Linked DNA regions of Homo sapiens: all the other regions are linked to region 3. Evidence: promoter capture Hi-C in human tissues and cell types (Jung and others, 2019). All regions are on one chromosome and are shown on one strand. The core of a region is centred on a gene start or on the middle of the fragment in contact, and the rest is flanking DNA. Distances in the headings are between cores, read along the strand shown. Region 1 overlaps SMAD9 (SMAD family member 9). Region 2 overlaps ALG5 (ALG5 dolichyl-phosphate beta-glucosyltransferase). Region 3 holds the start of SMAD9 (SMAD family member 9).

Region 1 (2,759 bases), core at 65-2,564, 47 kb before region 3:
CAATAAGCAACTGATGAGCAACCACTGCATTTCAGGCTCTGTGCTAGACATAGAAAAAAGAAGGCTCGCTGTTCAATGGGGAAAATAGACACACAGGAATTATATAATATAGTGCAACAAATATAATAGATGCTTATGTAACTTGCTGAGGAGCAAAAGGAACTAAGTAACTGAGAGGTGAAGAGGCAATTCCCTCTTTATCTTCCCACATCGTAGGGACAATTTTTATTAACCTTTTAATTCCCCTTTCAGCAATCCTAAGGCAATGCTTGCATATAGTAAGAGTTTAATAAATATCCATTAAATAAATGATTATAGGAATAAATGAATGAGGCAGATTGTAACATCTGGCACCAAATGTATTTATGCATGCCTTTAGGAACTTGTCAGCTCCGCACAGTATTTATCTCACACTCACAAAGTGCATATGTATCTTTTATTCATTATCTCAACTTAGATCCACTTTACAGGTATGGTAGCAAGAGCAATTATGACAGCATGCTAGAGGCTCCCTTTCCCTTCCATATGCTTTCTCAATTCAGCAAACTGAAGAGCTCTATATTTAAGATGCTGTCCTGGCTTCACATGGCAGAAAGGGATAATGCACTGGCTGGAGCTGGGGCTTCACTTTCTGCCTCACTCAAAGGATGCAGGCATATGTTTTAGGCAAGGGCTTCCTTTGATTGTTGAAAGAGGCAACCAAGGTAAAGGCCTAGCATTGATCTTCCATGTTGCTTGTCCTCAGGCCAAGTCTTCTGCTTGGATTACAGAAGTCTTTTCATCTTATTTCTACTGCCTTAAAAAAAAAAATCCTTGGAAATTCCCAGGGATACTATTCAAATCCATTTAGTTTCTGAGAGCTTCCAGAGCATTAGAACTAAAACTAGAGGAAAAACATGTTCTATCTCCAGGGTAACTGCTTCAAAATAGGTATAGTCCTAATCATTTTAAGGCTGATTGCTTTGTAAACTGTTTATACTATATGAATGACAGTTACAATGACTGTCATTGTGACTGTTCATCATAAATCATGATGTTGGGCTTATTTTCCCGTATTTCCCCACAGACCATAGTTCTTACTGACCTGAGTGTTGATAGGGACTCTCTGGCTCAGAAGGACTTCCTGGGGAGTGAGGGTAGCTGGCCGTGCACGGGGACTGGGAGAACGCGTGGCTGGGTGAGGGAGGGAGTGCAGAGCACGGAGGCTGCTGGAAAGAGTCAGGATAGGTGGCGTTGTGTGGCATGAGTGGCTCACTGTGCAGGGAGGCGCTGCGGAACTTGGCCAGGAGGCTGAGCTGGGGGTTATATTCACTGTGTCTTGGCACGAGCACAGGAGGCAGTACTAGGATCAGAAAGGAACAAGGCAGTTAGAATTGAACATTGCTCATCAGTACACAACAGAGTGGATACTTGCTGTTCTTATCTATTTTTTGTTTATGATAGAGCTGTTTTTCCCCTTGGGAACTACTCCCATTAGTCTTTGTGCTCATCATAAAACTGTCGATTAAGTCCCCATCTCCACCTAAGAAGCAAGCATGTGAGTAAGCTAAGGTAACAGTCTTCTCCTTGTAACCGGAATCTTAAGCAGAATGTCATAATTCACAAAAGCATTTGGAGAAGGATCTTTCTAGTGTCAGCACTCTAAAGAGACCTGCTCTTTATTCCTACCTTGGAAATGACCAGAGCTGTCCTAATACCTGGCCTTCTGGCAACCTGATTGTTACGTCTTTCTTTAATTCTGCCAAATAAGTCTTTTTTTCCCCCAAGGCAAAATCAGTTTCTCTTGCTTGCAATGAAACCCTAAGTGATCCCCAGAATATTTTTCCTTCAGAGATCATGTTGAATTATTTAGATGACCAGACTCAATTTCAGGTTCAGTAGTGCCACTGAAATAAAAACATTCTATGTGTCCTTAATGGAAAGATTTCAAGGTGAGTAATTAAAAGTTATTAAGTAAAACACAAACGGTGAATAATAATAAAAGTGACTAAGTAAAAGATGAGCAGCAGCAGGGCACAGTGGCTCACGCCTGTAATACCAGCACTTTGAGAGGCCGAGGCAGCCAGATCACCTGAGATCAGGAGTTTGAGACCAGCCTAGCCAACGTGGTGAAACCCCGTCTCTATTAAAAATACAACAATTAGCCGGGTGTGGTGGCGGGCACCTGTAATCCCAGCTATTCAGGAGGCTGAGGCAGGAGAATCGCTTGAATCTGGGAGGTGGAAGTTGCAGTGAGCCGAGATCATACCATTGCACTCCAGCCTGGGTGACAAGAGTGAAACTCTGTCTCAAAAAAATAAAATAAGCAGCAATAACAAAACATAAATGATGTTTGTTCATTTACTATGCTTTTCTGGGTTTCATTTTTTAAAAAGAATGTTACTGTTCTTGATTCTGATTATACACAAAATTTCAGAATAAATTCAAATTCTTAAGGGCAAGCTTTGCCCAGGCCCTCACGTCCTACCGACTCCTAGAAGGTTACAATGCCTGGCATAAAGTAGCTACTCCAAAACTGTTGTTGAAGAGCCATCTGTGACCAACATAAGTTCCAGACAGGGAAGCAAAGAAAATACAAGGGGGAAGTGGTCTAAGAAATAACAAAGGAAAACCTCAAAGAGCTACAAAGGACCTACGTCTTCATGTTGAAAAGAGCCACAGAGTGTGCAGAGCTCAATTAATGAAGAAAAGATCCAGACCTAGTCTTTCCATCTTGAATTTCAAACACTGCGGGATAACTGGAATATTCCAAAAGCTCC
Region 2 (2,700 bases), core at 63-2,562, 58 kb after region 3:
GAGATCGCACCACTGCACTCCAGCCTGGGCAACAGACCGAGACTCTGTCTCAGGAAAAAAAAAAATTGTGTTATATACTTTGCCTACTATTTAGTAGTAAAATAATTTATTCCCTTGTTTTTCTGGTAGAGGTACTTTGTGCAGAAAGGGAGAGAATGATTTTCTTAGAGAGGAAGCATGTTAAAAGTTCAAATAGCATATGGCAAATCAGTTTTAACTTTAAACTTGAAAAGAGCAACAACACTATTGAGTAATACATAAAAAAGAACATACTTCTCCATTTCAAAGATTCATGAGTAGAGTTAAAATACCATGTAATTTAACTAAAAACAAATCAAAATCCAAAAAACTTTCTTTTACAAATCTCGTTTTTATCTCAGCATAAGTCCCCAAGAGCTTTTAAGAGTTTTGTGTATCTGAAGAATTCTGATGTAAGAGCTGAATCCCTGATACCAATCTCACTATCAGGTAGAATTAATCTAAACATTTTTTCAAAAAGTTAGCTGTTCTTCAGAAATGAAAGATATCTTTGTTTTAAAAACTGCCCATGTTAGAAAATGTCTGTAGACATGGAGTCTCTTTCTTTTAAACCTCTTTTGGAGTATAACTGAATTTCCCATGGTTTTTTAAAATGAGTATTTAAGTTACTATGACAGTTGGCTTTTAATAAGTGAGGCAGGTGTGGTGGCATGTGCCTGTAGTCCTAGCCACTAGGGAGGCTGAGGTAAGAGGATTGTGGCTGAGTCATGATGGCACCATTGCACCCCAGCCTGGGCAACAGAAGGAGATCCCAACTCATTTAAAAAAACAAAAAAATAGGTGCAGTGGCTCATGCCTATACTCCCAGCACTTTGGGAGGCTGAGGCAGGGGAATCGCTTGAGGCCATGAGTTCAAGACCAGCCTGGCCAACATGGTGAAACCCCGTCTCTACTAAAAATACAAAAATCAGCCAGGCATGGTGGCACACACCTGTATTCCCAGCTACTTGGGAGGCTAAGGCATGAGAATTGCTTGAACTCGGGAAGTGTAGGTTGCAGTGAGCTGAGATCATGCTACTGCACTCTAGCCTGGGCGACAGAGTGAGACTGTCTCCAAAAAAAAAAAAAAAAAAAAAAAACAAAAACGGTGGTAAGAAGTAAAGTATATATTATCTTCTAGCAAGAAATGCTAAATCAATCAAAATCTTTCTCAGTATTTTTTTTTTTTTTTAATGGAATCTCACTCTGTTGCCCAGGCTGGAGTACAGTGGCAAGATCTCGGCTCATTGCAACAACCACTTCCTGGGTTCAAGCGATTCTCTTGCCTCAGCCTCCCGAGTAGCTGCGATTACAGGCACGTGGCACCATGCCCGGCTAATTTTTTGTATTTTTAGTAGAGACGGGGTTTCACCATGTTAGCCAGGATGGTCTCCATCTCCTGACCTCATGATCCACCCGCCTCGGCCTCCCAAAGTGCTGGGATTATAGGCATGAGTCACTGCGCCCCACCTTTGTTTTTTTTTTTTTTTTGAGACGGAATCTCACTCCGTCACCCAGGCTGGAGTGCAGTGGCACAATCTCAGCTCACTGCAACCTCCGCCTTCTGGCTTCAAGAGATTCTCCTATCTCAGCTCCCAAGTAGCTGGGATTATGGGCACGTGCCACCACACCCAGCTAATTTTTATATTTTCAGTAGAGATGGGGTTCTGCCACGTTGGCCAGGCTGGTCTCAAACTCCTGACCTCGGGTGATCCGCATGCCTCAGTCTCCTGAAATGCTGGGATTACAGGCGTGAGCCACTGTGCCCGGTCCTCAGTACTTTTTAAGTTAAATATTTTCACACAATTTACTGGAGAAAAGGAATAGATAGAGATATAGCTAATTTATATTAACAATCATAAACAGTAACAGAATTGGATCTGATGAAAAAATATCAAGCACAAAGATGAATGTTAGCCGGGCGTGGTGGCTCACGCCTGTAATCCCAGCATTTTGGGAGGCCCAGGTGAGAGGATCACTTGAGGTCAGGAGTTCAAGACCAGCCCTGGCCACCATGGTGAGACCCCACCTCTACTAAAAATACAAAAAAAGTTAGCCGGGCCTGGTGGTGGATGCCTGTAATCCCAGCTGTTTGGGAGGCTGAGGCAGGAGAATCACTTGAACCCAGGAGGCAGAGGCTGCAGTGAGCTGAGATTGTGCCACTGCACTCCAGCCTGGGTGACAGAGTGAGATTTGGTCTCAATTAAAAAAAAAAAAAGGAAAAAAAAAGAAAAAAAGATGAATGTTAATAATTACAGGTACTGGTTGAGTGCTGAACACATGCTAAACACCTGACATACATTTCCTTATTTATTTATTAATTATGGAGTCTTGCTCTGTAGCTCAGGCTGGAGTGCAGTGGCACGATCTTGGCTCGCTGCAACCTCCACCTCTTGGGCTCAAGTTATTCTCCTGCTTCGGCCTCCTGAGTAGCTGGGACTACAGGTGTGTGCCACCATGCATGGCTAAGTTTTTGTATTTTTAGTAGAGATGGGGTTTTACCATGTTGGCCAGGCTGGTCTCAAACGCCTGTCCTCAGGTTCCCAAAGTGCTGGTATTACAGGGATGAGCCACTGTGCCCGGCCACATTTCCTCATTTTAATCACTACCTCAGAGTTATGGTGTCTAAAACAAATGACTTTGGAGGTTGAGTTCTCTTTTGGAAGCCTGCTTTTCTACCCA
Region 3 (2,700 bases), core at 119-2,618:
CGTTCCGCTCAGTTACTGCTTAGGAGGCAGCATTATTAAATGCCTCACGACTTAACGGTCAGCCTCCATGCTTCTTGCTAACCTACATTTCCAAAAGATCATCCGAGAAATCTGGCAAGCCACCGAAATGGTACTAGTAAACTGGATCCATCCAAAGCACTCCACAGTGCCCTGTGGGTGTGTTTCTCACTGTAAACTACTGGGTAAAGAATTTACATACAATTTTATCTCCAAACTCGATTTGTATCCTTTGTAGGTTAGTTCTCAGGAGTACCCACTCCAGCCCAGAAATAAGTCAACGTAGTATTTCCAAACTATCACTTCAAATGTCCACGGTCAAGGGCAGGAGGAGGAAGGAATAGTAACGGGAAAACTTGTCAGCGATTAGCCATCCATAAAAATGTTCTCCCAGCGCTCCTCCTTCCGATCACAAAGCTGGCGTCAGGCAGTCTCCTGTATCTGCTTCCCACCTCGCCCCCTCCCCTCTGCGGAGAGCTGGCACCGAGGGGCGGGCCAAGGAAAAGACAAACACCCCGGCTCCGACACAGTCCAAGCGCGAGCCCGGAGACACTTCAACAACATTCCTAACTTTTTTTCTCAGTTCGCATGCCTCAAAGGTAAACAAAGCAAAAAGCCTACGAAACAGAAGGCAAGTGAGGCCAATTCGGCGCTGGCGAGTTTAAAAGTGGCCCCCAAAGAGTCACAATGACGACCCCCGCCGCCCCCTCTGTCCGCTGTCCCCTATCTCCAGCTACAGCAAGCGACCCCTCAGGCGCCTATCCTGGTCCCTGCCCACGCCCCGGGCCCCAGCCCCGACCCGACCGCCGCCCCCGCCGCGGGTCGAACATCCCCTGACAGGTCCCGGGGCCCGCGGCGCGGGCGGATGCAGGCGCGAGGAAGGCGAGCTGCGCCGCGGCCAACTCCCCAGAGCAGTCCCCTCCGGCCCCGCGCCCACCCCACCCCACCCCACTCCACCCCAGACAGGCTCCACCAAAAAACCCGGGAACAACGACCGCCAAAAGCCAAGCCTCACGCCGAGGAGCCTCCCAGGCTGCCCCGAGGACGAACAACTTCGCCCTCCACTCAATGCGCTCACACGCACGCACACAAGCAGCGCGCGGCCGAGGAGGGCACGTCTTACCTGTCCCCGCCGTGCCACTCATCCCTCCCCCACCCAGGTCCGGCGCCCCCAACCCCGCCCCCGCCGTGGTCCCCCGGCCGCCCGCTCCGAGCGCCGCGCACTCACTGCCTGGCTGCGCGCGCCCAGCGCCTGCAGGGCCCGGCGGCGGCGGCGGGGACCGAGACAGCGGCTGCAGCAGCGGCGGCGGCGGCGGCGGCGGCGGCGGCCCCAGCCGGCGTCAGTCAGACTGGAGCCGCGAAGCCTCATCGCCCGTATTAGTGCGCCGACCTGGAAAGCGGCCAGGGAGCCCTGCTTGCGGCCCGCCCCCGCCCGCCGCCGCGCGCTCTGGCCGCTCCGGGAGCCGCAGAGGAGGGGGCTGCGCGGGCCCGGCGGGGGGCGGGAGCGAGACCGGCCCCACGGCCACGTGCGCGGAAACTCGCGGCGCGGGGGTGGCGGGGTAGTACTCCTCGCAGCGGCCTGCGGCTCGGTTCCCGCCTCTTCCCCACCCCCAGCCCCGCGCTGCCCTCTCGGTCCCCCTGCGCGACCCCAGGCTCGGCCCCTGCCCGGCCTGCCGGGGTGGCCCGGGGGTGGGGTGGGAGCCCTTTGTCTGCGTGGGTCGCCTCGCGTCTCTCTCTCCCACCCCACCTCTGAGATTTCTTGCCAGCACCTGGAGCCCGAAACCAGAAGAGTTGTCAGCCCAACAAGAATATAGGATCACCGGCCCATCAGTCTGGAGACCCTTCTGAGCTGCTGTTCCTCACATGTTTCTGGGCCCTGATAGTGACTCTCACTTGCCCTGTTTGTTCCTGATTTGCTTTTCGGAGTAAGGGGATCCTGTCCCCATGGACAGTGACAGAGCAACTGGGCCGCAATGGCATAGGCAGAAGAAAATCTAATCACTCTGGGGGTGAGTGGTGGTTAAAACGACTCATGTAATTATGTGGATTGTAATTTCCTTACACATATTTATTTGCTTAACAACCCAGCATGTGAGATATATTATCTAATCTAATAAAAGATACAAACTTATGGGCACACAGCAATGTTACTGTACAACTTTCTCGTCTCACGGCCTGGCTGTCCCCCAGGTAGCCTGCCTCTTAAAGTCACTGTGGACTCCTGGAACCCACTCAGAAACGCCACTTAGGAAGAACCACCTCTGATTCCCCATCAGCCCGTAGTTCCTCACAGAAAAGGCATTTGCTGCAGGGGTGAACGTGGAATAAAGCCACAGGGCAGTTTTCAGCTTGCTCCTGTGTGCAGGAAAGTCATACCTCCAGTTGGCCCCGATGGCGGCTCCGAAATGTAAAGCAAGGCCTTAAATTTAACTGCTTTTTCTAGTTCTCAAAGCACTGCACTTTCTTCATGGCAGATGCTATTTTTGCATTATTATACCGTTGTAGTTGAACGGTGATTTGTTTAAAACAACATTTGCAGCAGAACCTTAAATACCATGCCTTAACCTCAAAGTCTTCTTTCTACACTGGCCCAGATACCTCTGCACCCGGCTATGTGTTGGGTTTGAGATTGTCCTGGGTGAGAAACACCAGGAAACAGCGGGACCGGTAAGGGCTACAGAT

What was found. Contacts are between HindIII fragments. The study calls those that stand out against the background at their distance.
Region 1: a fragment that was not itself captured here is called in contact with the fragment with the promoter of SMAD9 in region 3 in 1 of the 25 tissues and cell types used here (H1 embryonic stem cells).
Region 2: a contact is called between a fragment that was not itself captured here and the fragment with the promoter of SMAD9 in region 3, in 1 of the 25 tissues and cell types used here (thymus).

Annotation. Positions count from the first base shown.
Region 1 is chr13:36,871,574-36,874,332 of GRCh38, forward strand. It overlaps SMAD9 (SMAD family member 9), which reads right to left. Exons shown (of 7, transcript NM_001127217.3): 3 at 1,085-1,342. Among named protein-coding and RNA genes, the nearest start is that of SMAD9, 47 kb to the right of the region's middle. The HindIII fragment of the contact is 5,023 bases long and covers 1-2,759 here.
Region 2 is chr13:36,976,697-36,979,396 of GRCh38, forward strand. The region is part of intron 6 of ALG5 (ALG5 dolichyl-phosphate beta-glucosyltransferase); the gene reads right to left. Among named protein-coding and RNA genes, the nearest start is that of ALG5, 21 kb to the right of the region's middle. The HindIII fragment of the contact is 7,313 bases long and covers 1-2,700 here.
Region 3 is chr13:36,918,870-36,921,569 of GRCh38, forward strand. It overlaps SMAD9 (SMAD family member 9), which reads right to left and starts at 1,369. Exons shown (of 7, transcript NM_001127217.3): 1 at 1,247-1,369. RefSeq lists silencers at 1,280-1,349, 1,460-1,509. The HindIII fragment of the contact is 20,741 bases long and covers 1-2,700 here.